Linked DNA regions of Homo sapiens: regions 1, 2, 4 and 5 are each linked to region 3. The links are contacts of gene promoters, found by promoter capture Hi-C in blood cells and fetal thymus (Javierre and others, 2016). All regions are on one chromosome and are shown on one strand. Each heading gives the region's core, a stretch centred on a gene start or on the middle of the fragment in contact. The rest is flanking DNA. Distances are from core to core; before and after follow the strand shown.

Region 1 (2,700 bases), core at 23-2,522, 2.2 Mb after region 3:
GAAACACGAGACAAGGCACAAGAAGCTCTATGGCCGGAGATGAACCACCTGTCTCCTTTCGAAGTGCTTCCTGAGGTCCACTTTATGCTAGTTAATGTTGCTTCTTATACTGCATGTTAGTAATTCAAAACGCCTAGCTGGAATAAAAGTCCTCTTTAAACATTACAGTTTGTCTCCGCGTTGCCAGTGTTTGTTTCCAGTTTCATAGGCTATTCTGGTATGTCAAGAGTTGTGTTATTACTGTTCCAAAAGAGCCCTTGTTTCAATCCACTCTCACCTGGGATGCGGGCATAACTGATGTTTATAGAACTGATACTTAGAGATGTTTAGAGAGGCGCATCCCTTACCACTCCATCCTTTACCGATAACCACATTTTATATGTTTTTGTTGCATTTAAGTTTTTTGTTTTTTTTTTTTAAAGACACCTGCACACACACAATTTTCCCATCGCCAGCAGGGAGAAGACTACCAGGCTAGATCTCCAGGGACTTCAGGGAAACAGACACCGTGAAATCCACTTGGCCAAAGAAGGGGAGCGCTTCAGGGGCTGGGGGAGGAAGCAGCCCTGAGGTGCTGGGAGGCCGAGGCGGCGCCTGTTTACAGACGCCTTCGCCCTCCCCCACCCCCACAGACTAGGGGTCCAAAAAGCAGTTCCCGTGCGCATTCCCCGCCTGGCCCAGGCCCTGGGAGTACCACAGGAGCCAGGTAGCCCTTTCGCCCCCTCCCTCTCGTCCGAGCCTCCCTTCGTCCTCCTCTCGGCCTACCTACCCCGACAGGCCCTACAGGCGGCATGCAGAGGCCTGAGGCCTAAAGGACGCCGGCCACTGACAAGCCCCAGAACAGCCGGCGGGGGCCCTGAGGAGCCTGGGGCCGGCCGGGCTGCCGCTGCCGCGGAGGAGCAGAGGGCGGGCGAGGACAAACCCTTCCCGACCACAGCTGCCTATTGTTCCCGACTGAGGCCCCGGCCGCGGCAGCCCCGCTCCCCAAGTCGCCGCCCGCCGCTCGCTCACCGCGCTGGTCCGAGCAGCAGCTCCTCTCAGCTCCGAGTCCCCGCGGCCGTCGCCACCGCCGCGGCAGCCGCCGCCGCCGCCGAGGCCACCGTTGACTCTGATTCTGTCCCAGGCCGCCGGGCCACGGCTGCCGCCGCCACCGCCAGCACCGCCTCCGGCCTCCCACCTGCTGCTGCTGAGGCTGCTCCTGCAGCAGGGGCCATCTTGTTGCTCGGCCTCCTCTTCCTCCTCCTCGTCCTCCGCCGCCCAGTCGCTCGTTGTCCTCGTCCCCTTCCTCTTCCTCAGGCTCCGGCCCGCCCCGGAGACTGGGGCGGAGACGAGGGCGAGGATCCTCCCTCAGGAGGCGGGGCGGGCGGAGGGGAGGGGCGGGCGCGGGAGCAAAGCTCTGAGTCACCGGCCACCAACGCCCGGAGGGAGACCGGCGACGCTCTCCGCCGCGACCGAAAGTCTCACACGCCCTGAGCAGATGAACCGGTCCCTCGGTCCGGTCTGCCCTCCCGCACCGGCGCCTTTGGGCTCAGCGGGCCAGTGGCCAGATGGCGAGAGTAAATTGGGGGAATTTCTTTCGTTTCCATCGAACCCCACACTACGTCTACTCTTTCGGCTTTCTCAGCCGTTGTCCCCCAACTCTTGTTTCTTTTTCACGTCTTGTCCCCCACCCCATTTTTCTTCTTCCATATTATCCAGGTTCTGGATCTCATCAGCTTTGTCCTCGTCACCCCTCTGGGAGTTCAGCCTCCTAAGGCTGTGAAACAGCCCAAAAGGCCCGGACACGCTACTCCAAAACGTCTCTCCTGGGCTGTGTGAACAATAAGAGCTATTTGGGGACGACAGGAAAAGATATGGCCCATAGAAGGGCTCCTGAAATCTAACCTTGCGACTCTTTAAAAGTTTCTTGTCCCTTGTGGAAAAGGTGCCGTTTTGGTTTTGGGGAATGGGAGGTCCCTTCAGACAATTCATTTTAGCCAAACCCTCGCTTTTGAGAAGGGGAAGAAATGGGATTATTGTAACACCATACAGTACTAATTTCAAAATAAATCATCTAGAATAGAGGAGAGAGAGAGTCCCCAAATAAACAACCATTTAATACCTCTACTCGGCGCTATCACCTTTTTTGCTTCAGGATTTGACCAAGAGAGCAGAGATTATGTTTTTCTGTCCTTTCTTCACTGTTTACATCACAGTACCCCAAGAGAAGCACTTCTGCCTTTAACTTGATACATTGGAATCGCTATCACAGATAGTGTTTTTGTATTATTTTTAAGAAATATCACACACCTTCCTAAACTCTTGGCAGAGAAGAATTCTTTTTAGTTGTTAGCACCCTCCTGCTACTGAGATCTCAGCTTCTGTTTAGAAGACCTATTGTTGTCTTTCCACTGATTGGAATTTGCTGCCTCTGAACTGGGTTTAATCTGTAATCGTCTTTTCAGCCTACTAAATAGTAACCCCAGTCCTACAGAGAGTGAATTTCTAGCTACCACAGGGGGATTTAGGTTAGCATGTGCCAATCTAAAGGGATCTCTTAAAGCCTTTCCCTTCTCAGACCAGGCCTCTGTACCCTGCTAGGAAAAACAGATTAATCTGCTCCTCCTGCTTTTCCTCCTCCTCCCTTCTTCTCACTCCTAGGGAACCTTCCACAACAGAAGGTTTTAGCGACTGTTGCTAGGCAAACATGCCAACTTCCTT
Region 2 (2,700 bases), core at 147-2,646, 2.4 Mb after region 3:
ATATGTGTGGGAGATAGCTAGGCTTCAAGAGATTGACTTTGAAGAGAGTAGTGGCTAAGTAGCAAAAATTTCCTATATTGAAGGTGTAGAAGTGGGCCTGCATTCCAACCTACCATTGTCTTCAAGTGGGGTATGGATCATTATGACTGGTTAGAGGGGGTTTGGAGAATGAAGTTGTTGCTGTAAGCCTATGGGATTCCCAGGCACAGAGCTTGCTTATGTCTTAATTTTAATGAGTTCTATATTTTTATAACTCTTGACTTATATAAATGGGTCAGCCGTTGAGTCTGAGGATGACCAGCAGCCCAAGGCTATTCCAGGTGCTGGTATTTCTTTTTTTTTTTTTTTCTCTTTCTGTTTTTTTTTTTTTTTTTTTTTTTTTTAATTATACTTTAAGTTTTAGGGTACATGTGCACATTGTGCAGGTTAGTTACATATGTATACATGTGCCATGCTGGGAATTGAACAATGAGATCACATGGACACAGGAAGGGGAATATCACACTCTGGGGACTGTGGTGGGGAGGGGGGAGGGGGGAGGGATAGCATTGGGAGATATACCTAATGCTAGATGATGAGTTAGTGGGTGCAGCGCACCAGGTGCTGGTATTTCAAAGATGGCTCAGGGGTTTCTTGTGGAGATGATCTGATGAGCATTTTGCCATTACAAACAGTGGAGGCGGAGAAAGTACGGACTTGAGCCTGAGTTATGGTAAAACATACTCATTTTTAAAGGAGAGTTTTAATGCTGATATTATAGAGAAAGACATTGTTTGACTCCTAGACTTTCAGAACGGGAAATAATTTTGACTTTATAGTCAGTATTTGAATTGGGTATAAGTATGTGAACATCAGTGGACCCTAATAAGGAAGAGTTAATGAATTAAGAAGAGCTTGCATCTCTGAACATCTTCTTTTTATACTTCGTTTACTTCCCATATTGCTCTTATTCAACAGATGGGATGGCATAATTGGGTATACGAAGTTTATGCGCATGCTAACTCTTTTTTGTTATCTTTTGGTGTTTTTTGGTGTACTTTTTGGGGATTTTCCTGGGAAAGTTCTAGGCATATATTCAGTTGATTTAGAGTTAGATTTGGGCTAAGATTATTAGTATACTTGAAATTCTGAGCCTTCTTATTTTCTAAATAGCTTTTAAAGTAGAAAACATTTGCCAGTGCTGTTGGGCTTAAAAAAAAAAAAAACCCAACAACAACACAATTCTTTATAAATACTCATGAAAAATCTGGTTACAGGCTGTGTTGTGATAGACATAGTACAGCCAAAAATATATTTAAGAAAATTCTCACCCAGTTTAGTAAGCTTAAATAAGAGGAAAATAAGACAGTTTTTTTTTTTAATAAAAGGCTGATTTTCCCAGAATATGAAGCCTAACAACTGTTTGCTGTGTTATTTTCCCTGTTGCCTGTTCTAAATTCAGCAAGAACTATGCATCCCTAGTCCATGGTAAAAGCTTAGTTCCAGTAGGTGATTCTTAGTAATGGAAGTCTCATTGAGGGATGCAAGGGAATTTGATTGGGAAACATCAGGCATGGAACATTTACTTTTTACTGCTCTAATTTTCTGTGTATCTGGGTATTCAGTGGGGTGGGAACATGAGCACAAATACTAGAATTATCTGGATTTTTTTTTTATACTATGGATTTCCTCCTCTTACCCCCTACCTGCCCCCCAACCCATTGCTAAGTGAGCCATTGATAGTAGGAGTGTGTTATATCCTTCAGGTATGTAGGGCTGAACAAATGCTAAAAACCTTGGCACTTGGCTGATATTCCATAAACCAAATTCCTGCTCTGTGTAATTTGCCTTCTGGTGATATCAGTTTGTTACTCCCATTTTTGAAGAAAAATATGAATTGTGGTGAAGAGACATCTGTAACCAAGAGTAAGATTTATCAAATTATGTAGTATACATGAAGGACACCAGGAGATTGTTTACCTGAACATTTATTAAACTCATTTGACTGTGACCCACAATAAAAAATACATTTTACTACTTGATTCCGCAAGCGCACACACACACAAAGTTGAAAGTTTGGTGAAATAATATTTATCTTTTCAGGGCCCTACTGAGTTAGCTATAATGGCTTGCAAGACCAGTTGTGCATATTTCTTCCTATCTAGCTCTTTGTCCAGTGACATCATGTTGGTAGCTCAAAATTGGTCATGGTGGGAATATTTACACCAGGAAATTCAGCAAATGGTATTCTTAGGGCTTCCCTCCTCATAGGTAGTTGTTAAACATTTATAGCACCCCACTGCTTATAACACACATTGATATATTCTGTTATTTCATTTCATTTTAAAAATGCTGGGTTTTGACTTCCAAATTAATTTTACACCCAGCTAATGGATTATAGCCTACATTTAACAACAAATACAACTAGTTTAGCCTACCCTCTTAACTTTGTAAGTGAAGGAACATACTAAGAGCCTCAAGGCCAAGGTCAGATAGTGAGTTATTAGCAAAGCCAGGGCTCTGGACTCAATCTGGAGTTGTTTCTGGTGGGCTTCTTTCCTAACCTCACTTAGTGTGTATAAGGGATTGTGTTAATCAGTTTGAATAAAGATGGACCTTGACCCTGAGGACTTTATGCTTAGGTGGGGGATTAAATATGGAAACAACAGTGATAATGAAAGGCAGAAAGTAATGGGTGGTAAAAAGATAAAGATAAGGAAC
Region 3 (2,700 bases), core at 23-2,522:
ATCACTTTTTTAAACCAATGTTTAAGTCCAATCTAACCTACTTAACTATTAACAGTCTACCTGGCTATCTACCTGTGGTAGTGTAGTATGTAACAGCCCACAGCACACATGCTCAATTCCAAGCCTATCTGCTCTCCGCAATCAGTATATTCCTCCTGCAATTTATCATGGTATGAAAGGCCCAGTGATACACATATTTGGTCATTTTCAAATAGTGCCTGCCAGCATAGTGGCTCACACCAGTCATCCCAGCACTTTGGTAGGGTGAGGCGAGATGATCATTTGAGCTCAGGAGTTTGAGAACAGCCCGGACAACATGGCGAAACCCCATTTCTACAAAAAAAAAAAAAAAATTAGCCAGCGGTAGTGGCGTGCTACTTGGGAGGCTGAGGTGGGAGGATCCCCTGACCCCTGGAAAGTGGAGACTGCAGTGAGCCATGACTGCACCACTGCACTCCAGTCTGGGCGACAGAGACAGACCCTGTCTGAAAAAAAAGTGCCCTTCACAGAAGCTTCCTCAGGGTATTAGCATGAGCATGTGAAAGTACAGTATGTTTATCAAACACATAAAATAAGCAGTTATAAATAACGTCAGAATAACACAAGGAGGCCAATTATCAAAATGAAAGGCTAGTTTTGCATGCTGTGCTTTGCGGAGAGAAGGAAGAGGGAGTTTTCATGTTATTACACTTTTGATAGCAGAATCCTATATTTTGGTGCAGAGGTGGCAAAATAAGGCGGGGGGTGCTGGTGCGCAGAAGCTGACAAGGTTAGAATGTGCAGCGTTTTTACGACGGACTGGCTTTACTCATTTCCTGCCTCACTTCTCTCCTATCTGTATAGGTTTTTCTTTTCGTCCTCCTCTACCAGTACGCTCCCGCCTGCCGCGCTCCGCCCTTGTGCGGCGCACGATCGGAGTCAGTGATTAAGCCGGCTCCAAGACAAAGCGGAGGCCGAGCCCAGGAAGCAAGCGCGCTCTCCGCCCCGCCTGGAGGGAGGGCCCAACCACAGCACAGCCGCGCTCACTCCTCACCCGGACGTGACCTAGTTCTCACAGAGGCCCGGCCTCTTCCGCCACAACTCCGGCCCGCGGTCCCGCCCCGTTCCGTGAATGGTCGGCCGGCCTCAGGTCAAAAAAGCGTTTAGGTGTCTGCGACGGAGCCTCCGGAGAAAGGCAAGCACGTCGCAGCCAATGAGGTGATAGAAACGCAAAGCAGCGACCAATGACTAGCTGAGTTGGGCTGGGCCGGCCGACGAATCACGAGGCTTCGCACCCGGATATGGTTATGGGCTCGGAAATCTAGTTCGGGAAAAGTGTGAGGGGCTCTTCACGTGGGGAAGGAACAGCAGGCGCGGAGGAGGGGGCAAGCGTGTGTGAGATTCAGTGGTCCATGCGTGCGTTTGTCGTGTAAGGGTCATTCCTGGGGTTTGGAGTGGGGGAACAAATCAATGTGGCTGTTTTTCCGTGGAAAGAATTCCCACTGCAGTGTCCCGGAGCCTGCGTGTGGTGGGCAAGCTCCTCAAATGGTATCTCACAGGGAATAGGGGAGTCTTGAAAACGCAGCTTCGGCAGTAGGAACATGAACCTCTTACCTAAAAGTTCCAGGGAGTTTGGCTCCGTTGACTATTGGGAGAAGTTCTTCCAGCAGCGAGGAAAGAAAGCTTTCGAGTGGTATGGAACCTACCTGGAACTGTGCGGGGTGCTACATAAATATATCAAGCCCAGGGAAAAGGTGAGGAGCGCGGGTTGGTAGCCCTTCGTACGTGCTCCGGAAGGTGGGAACTGGTAACAGGAATCTTGCACTTGGTGGACAGTGACAGGCGGGAGGACCCTAGTTGGACGCATATTTCAGCATTTCCTGCATTGTTCCTGCTAAAAGACAAACTAGAATATTCTTTCAGGCCGGGCGCAGTGGCTCACACCTGTAATCCGAACACTTTGGGAGACCGAGGTGGGAGGATCGCTTGAGCCCTGGAGTTAAAGACCAGCCTGGGGAACATGAGACCTCGTCTCTACAAAAAATGAAAAAATTAGCCGGGCGTGGTGGCGCGCATCTGTATTTCCAGCTACTCGGGAGGCTTAGGCGGGAGGATCGCTTGAGCCCAGGAGGTCGAGGCTGCAGTGAGCCATGATCACGCCACTGCACTCCAGCCTGGGTGACAGAGTGAGACCCTGTCTAAAAAAAAAAACATTTCTTTAAAGGTTTTCAGATAATAGACCTCCCACCCCAGCTCATTCTTGGATTAATAACCCTACTTGAAGAGTGACTTCCCATCTTGAAAGTATGTTCTTCTGTCACTGTGCATTCCTGTGCAACCTGCAGCAGGTGTGACTTTGTGTATGAATTTGTTTTTCAAATAGTCGTTGAGTGCGCCCCAAGTTTCAGGCACTGCTCAGTCCTTAAACTATAAGAGCATTAAGACGTAAACCCTGCACATGTTCCAGAAGTGAAACGTGATAAGTACAACAATGGGTTTGGTATAGGTGAGATTGTACTGGAGGTAGGGAAGGAGGAAGGTAGAAAACTTAACATTTGTGGGGAAGCTTTATGTGCCAAGCCTTATGTTGGGTGCTGTGTATGTGCATGTGCAATCTTTGAATTCTCATCATAAATTCAGGTGAGTGGCCATGCATACATTTTACAGATGAGGAAACTGAGGCCCCGAGAGCCACTTTTTTTTTTTTTTTTGCCCAAGATC
Region 4 (2,700 bases), core at 133-2,632, 2.1 Mb after region 3:
CGGGATCACATGTCCTTGAATGAGATGAGTACAGTCTCCATTTCAGTCATCAAGAACCCTACTGTTTTTGAACAGCTCCTTTCTTTCTGTTACACAGGGCGGATATGCCTGCAACTGGCAGATATCATCAGCTACCTAACAGCTGCCAGTTTTCTGCAAATGCAGCATATTATAGACAAATGTACACAGATCCTGGAGGGCATTCATTTCAAAATTAATGTGGCTGAGGTTGAAGCAGAATTAAGTCAAACAAGGACAAAGCATCAAGAGAGACCTCCAGAGTCTCACAGGGTTACACCAAATCTCAACCGCTCCCTTAGCCCACGACATAATACCCCAAAGGGAAACCGGCGAGGTCAGGTTAGTGCTGTGCTGGATATCAGAGAGCTAAGTCCTCCTGAGGAGTCCACCAGCCCTCAGATCATTGAACCAAGTTCTGATGTAGAGAGCCGGGAGCCCATTCTTCGGATCAACCGAGCAGGACAGTGGTATGTGGAGACAGGAGTGGCGGACCGTGGGGGTCGGAGTGATGATGAAGTTAGAGTTCTTGGAGCAGTACACATCAAAACTGAAAATCTGGAGGAGTGGCTTGGGCCTGAGAATCAGCCTTCTGGAGAAGATGGGAGTAGTGCAGAGGAAGTAACAGCCATGGTGATTGATACCACAGGCCATGGTTCTGTAGGACAGGAAAATTATACTTTAGGGTCTTCAGGAGCCAAGGTGGCTCGGCCAACAAGCAGTGAAGTTGACAGGTAGGTTTGGTTTGGTTTGGTTTTCCCATGTAATGGCTATTGTGTAGACATCACTAAAGTGTCCTCTGTAGTACAGAGAGCATTTTCCTTACCTGATTTTCTTGGTCAAAATAAGTTGATGATGGGGAAACTGGAGGTGTGCCAAAAGACTTGCATTCTTATTTTTTTAAACCAGGAAGCTCCATTCCTGAAGTATTCACAATGTTGTGAGAACTGTGGTAAAGTTAGACACTTCCGTGAATCAGAATAGCATCTGCAGCCACACTAGGATAGGATCAGTAATTGCCAGGGCTTCCTCGGGATTCGAGGCAGGGAGCCGATCATCAGCTGGGAACCTAGCAGCATTGCCCTTCCTTGGTGTGTTATCACACAGGTAGGTGGCCTCCAGGAGTCTCACTTTCCTTTGTAGCACTGCTTGCTTTTCTTTGCCCCCAACTACCAAATTAGAGGAAGTATGGTACCAGCAGTAATTGTTCTTTTCAAATTAGTAAAATAGTAATTCTGAAGAAAAGCGTTATGGATATTTTTCATCTCTTTTTTCCCTTGTCACGTGATGGTATCTTCCCTGTTTTCTTTCATGGATGACTGCTGCTACCACAGGCCTGACAATCTCCCTTTTTTTCACCAGTGCTGCTATGCCCCATGCCTCACTTTTCTCTTTTAATACATTGTATTTATTAGACATTTCTTTTTGGTGGAAATACCATGGGTTTCAGTCAATTGAGAGAAAGTCTCAATTGAAAGAAATATTACTAATTTAGATTGGTAATATTTGTTCTTTTTCCCTCTTAAAAATAAATTTAAATTGACTATATGAGCAAAGAAAACTAAAAAACTATTACTTTGGTCTTGAGAAACAAATGTATCACAGAGATTCAGTTAGTGTATACTGTATCCACTTCAGGTGGTCTTTTTATTTTATTTTATTTATTTTATTTGAGACGGAGTCTCGCTGTGTCGTCCAGGCTGGAGTGCAGTGGTGCGATCTCGGCTCACTGCAAGCTCTGCCTCCCAGGTTCACACCATTCTTCTGCCTCAGCCTCCCGAGTAGCTGGGACTACAGGTCCCTGCCCCCATGCTCAGCTAATTTTTGTGTGTGTGTTTTTAGTAGAGATGGGGTTTTACCATGCTAGCCAGGATGGTCTCGATCTCCTGACCTCGTGACCCACCTGCCTCAGCCTCCCAGAGTGCTGGGATTACAGGTGTGAGCCACTGCGCCCGGCCTTATTTTATTTTATTTTTGAGATGAAGTCTCACTCTGTTGCCCAGGTTAGAGTGCAGTGGTGCAATCTTGGCTCACTGCAGCCTCTACCTCTTGGGTTCAGGCGTTTCTCCTGCCACTGTGCCTGGCTTCAGGTGATCTTGATTTGAGTATTGTCTTCCTGTGTCCTTATTAAAATAATCTTGAGCATAGAACTTGTCCTCCTATGTTAGAACTGTATCAGAAGTTCTCGGGTGATGGGTGCACCAAAATCTCACAAATCACCAAAGAACTTACTTATGTAACCAGATACCACCTGTTCCATGATAACTTATGGAAATAAAATTTTAAAAAAAACTATCAGAAGTAATATCAGGGCCAGGTGTGGTGGCTCACACCTGTGATCCCAGCACTTTGGGAGGCTGAGGCAGGTGGATCACTTGAGGCCAGGACTTTGAGACCAGCCTGGCCAACATGGTGAATCCCATCTCTACTAAAAATACAAAAATTAGCTGAGCGTGGTGGCACGCACCTGTAGTCTCAGCTACTGGGCCAGCTGAGGCAGGAGAATCGCTTGAACCCAGGAAGTGGAGGTTGCAGTTAGCTGGGATCACGCCACTGTACTCCAGCCTGGGCAACAGAGCAAGACTCTGTCTCAAAAAAAAAAAAAAAGTAATATCAATTTCAATGCAAAGATTTTTTAATCTCCATGATCTATATCAATAGTCTAAAATACAGATTATTATG
Region 5 (2,700 bases), core at 9-2,508, 2.0 Mb after region 3:
TCAGGAAAAAAAAAAAAGTTTGTCCCAAGTAGGTGGATATTTTTCCCATAAGTTTAGTGACTGTTTCCTGAACCCAAATCTGAAGAGGGTTTCTGTACCTGTTCCTGATGCTGAGGATAGTATGAGAAATAGAGGTTGGATGTTAAAATGTTGGCATTTCTGGGACCTTTTGATGATTCATAGAGGTATTAAATTAGTAGTTGGAACTCTTCCAGAAAATGTTAGATTGTATCTTTTTTTAGAAAAAGACTATATTGCTATATTTCAAAAATGATCCATCAGATGTTTCTATTATGCTAAAATACTATCTTTGGATTTTACTATATGCAAAGTTTCCAAATTTAATAAAATTTTCTTAAAAGGACTTAAGCCAATGAAATTTCTTTTAATTGTTCATCTATAATAATTTTTCATTAATAAGCCATCTGTATAAGATTAATATACCAGGTAAGTAGACAATAAAAATTGAAACTGAAATAAAAAACAATCTTTTTTTTGGCAATGAGCTACATAGATAACAATTGCATGAATGTAACTAATGAAGGTACATAATTATCATAAAAAACATGAAAAATTATAATTATCATAAAAAAGAAACATGAAAAATTGCATGGATTTTTGTTTGCTTTTTATTTTGTATGCTTCAACTTTGGACTTAGAGATTTTATCTTAAAATGTTTCTTTTCCCCCCCCCCATTAATCAGGCAAAACACATTCTTGGTCCTAAGAGATTTCGATGGGCTTGTTCAAGTTATCATTCCCCAGGATGAGGTAATAGAAAATTTCCTGTTATTATCTAAAAGCTTCTTTGATGCTATTGCTGGGGTAAGCTAAGTAGTTAGATGAATATGTTAGAGGTTTTAAATTCAGAAGTTTATTGTTAATGAAAACTGAAAAATATAAGCAATGTTAAGACATAGCAAAAAGACCAGTGACCCAGTAGAATTAGGAACCCAGGATACGAACAAAAAATTTAGAGGAAAAAAATATATAAATGGCTTGTAGACATAATGAAAGTATGCCCAGCCTCACTCATAGGTAGAGAAATGTGAATTGAAACTGCATGTAATTGTCATTTTTAACACATTAGATTGACAACACACTGTGTTTGGGAAAGCAGGTGCTCAATACCTGGAGGGAGTACAAATTGGCACTAGCTGAAGGGAGAGCAATTTGGCAATATCAAAACTATAAATGCATATATCCTTTGAGCCATTAATTTCACTTCTGGTAAATTATCTTATATCTAGACTTATACAGATATAAAATGACATATGTACAAGGATATTCATTTCAGGATTCTTTTTAACGGAAAAAAATTGGGAACCACCCAGATGTCCTCCAATAAGAGACTGGCTTAAAAAATAATGTATATTCTTACAATACAATACTCTACTCAGCCGTACAAAAAAGAATGAAGAAGTTCTATTCTAATAGGGAAAAAAAAATCCAAGGAATACTGTTAAGTGAAGAACCCTGTATTCTTGAGTATACAAAAGAGCAGCTGTTAAACTCCAGCACTCTAAGTGCTGTCATCTGTATAAAAACTGGGGGAAGGATGCAGAATATACATTCAGTGTGTGTGTGTGTGTGTGTGTGTGTATTTGCTTGTATATATGTTAGGAAATGTCTCTGGAAGGATACCTAAGTATCTGGTAACATTAGGTGCTGCTGGGGGAAGGAACTGAGGGCGTTGAAAACAAGGATAGGAGGGAAGCTTTTTACTATATCTTTTTGTACCCCTTGAATTTGAAGCCATGTGACGGTATTACTGCTCAAAAAAGTATTTAATTTAATTACCATTGAAATTAGATAAAATATGACAGAGTGATATTCTGAAAAAAAAATTTTTTTAATTAAAAAATTCAAGGCCAGGCATGGTGGCTCACACCTGTAATCCCAGCACTCTGGGAGGCCGAGGCCAGCAGATTGAGTACAGGAGTTTGAGACCAGCCTGGGCAACAGTGAAACCTCGTCTCTACTAAAATACAAAAAATTGGCCAGGTGCGGTGGCTCACTCCTGTAATCCCAGCACTTTTGGGAGGCTGAGGCAGGTGGATCTCGAGGTCAGGAGTTTAAGACCAGCCTGACCAACATGGTGAAACCCCGTCTCTACTAAAAATACAAAAATTTAGCCGGGTGTGGTGGCGGGCTCCTGTAACCCCAACTACTCAGGAGGCTGAGGCAAAAGAATCACTTGAACCCAGAGGCAGAGGTTGCAGTGGGCCGAGATCACGCCACTGTACTCCAGCCTAGGCAACAGAGCAAGACTCTATCTCAAAAAAATAATAATAATACAAAAAATTAGCTGGGTGTGGTGGCATGTGCCTGTAGTCCCAGCTACTTGGGAGGCTGAGTTGGGAGAATCACCTGAGCCCAGGAGGTTCAGGCTGAAGTGAGCCAAAATTGCACCACTGCACTCCAGAGTGCACACCAGAGTGATACCCTGTGTCAAAAAAAAAAATTAAAATTAAAGAATTAGATAAAATAAAGAACTTCCATCATACTTACTGGGCAAAGTTGGTTTCTATTGCAATTTTTACTAACGCTTGTATGCCTAAGAAAAATATTATTTATTCAGCTCTTAAGTTTTGAAATAAATAAAGAGCAATGAATTATCTTTTAGGGATCAACATCCAGAGATGAGTATAGCTAACCCTGGAGAACTCCTTTGACTCTGACCCATTATTGCTATGGGAT

Evidence for each region. The method cuts DNA at HindIII sites, captures the fragments that hold promoters and counts their contacts. A CHiCAGO score of 5 or more calls a contact.
Region 1: the fragment with the promoter of RC3H1 here is called in contact with the fragment with the promoter of METTL13 in region 3 in 6 of 17 cell types (fetal thymus, non-activated CD4 T cells, total CD4 T cells and 3 more); the score reaches 11.9 in fetal thymus.
Region 2: a fragment that was not itself captured here is called in contact with the fragment with the promoter of METTL13 in region 3 in 4 of 17 cell types (total CD4 T cells, naive CD8 T cells, non-activated CD4 T cells and 1 more); the score reaches 9.5 in total CD4 T cells.
Region 4: a fragment that was not itself captured here is called in contact with the fragment with the promoter of METTL13 in region 3 in 5 of 17 cell types (fetal thymus, non-activated CD4 T cells, total CD4 T cells and 2 more); the score reaches 12.8 in fetal thymus.
Region 5: a contact is called between a fragment that was not itself captured here and the fragment with the promoter of METTL13 in region 3, in 6 of 17 cell types (fetal thymus, non-activated CD4 T cells, naive CD8 T cells and 3 more). The highest score is 13.5, in fetal thymus.

Annotation. Positions count from the first base shown.
Region 1 is chr1:174,021,085-174,023,784 of GRCh38, forward strand. It overlaps RC3H1 (ring finger and CCCH-type domains 1), which reads right to left and starts at 1,273. Exons shown (of 20, transcript NM_172071.4): 1 at 1,012-1,273. It overlaps RC3H1-DT (RC3H1 divergent transcript), which reads left to right and starts at 1,399. Exons shown (of 2, transcript NR_187284.1): 1 at 1,399-1,556; 2 at 1,699-2,106. RefSeq lists enhancers at 1-18, 83-622 and silencers at 829-1,148, 1,259-1,508. The HindIII fragment of the contact is 5,810 bases long and covers 1-2,700 here.
Region 2 is chr1:174,162,421-174,165,120 of GRCh38, forward strand. All of the region lies in intron 1 of RABGAP1L (RAB GTPase activating protein 1 like), which reads left to right. Among named protein-coding and RNA genes, the nearest start is that of RABGAP1L, 4.3 kb to the left of the region's middle. The HindIII fragment of the contact is 151 bases long and covers 1,322-1,472 here.
Region 3 is chr1:171,780,388-171,783,087 of GRCh38, forward strand. It overlaps METTL13 (methyltransferase 13, eEF1A N-terminus and K55), which reads left to right and starts at 1,273. Exons shown (of 8, transcript NM_015935.5): 1 at 1,273-1,733. The coding sequence starts at 1,581. RefSeq lists enhancers at 962-1,256, 1,086-1,619. The HindIII fragment of the contact is 1,150 bases long and covers 511-1,660 here.
Region 4 is chr1:173,870,397-173,873,096 of GRCh38, forward strand. It overlaps ZBTB37 (zinc finger and BTB domain containing 37), which reads left to right. Exons shown (of 5, transcript NM_001122770.3): 3 at 1-752. Among named protein-coding and RNA genes, the nearest start is that of ZBTB37, 3.4 kb to the left of the region's middle. The HindIII fragment of the contact is 2,862 bases long and covers 1-2,700 here.
Region 5 is chr1:173,827,629-173,830,328 of GRCh38, forward strand. It overlaps DARS2 (aspartyl-tRNA synthetase 2, mitochondrial), which reads left to right. Exons shown (of 17, transcript NM_018122.5): 3 at 705-771. Among named protein-coding and RNA genes, the nearest start is that of CENPL, 4.1 kb to the left of the region's middle. The HindIII fragment of the contact is 914 bases long and covers 802-1,715 here.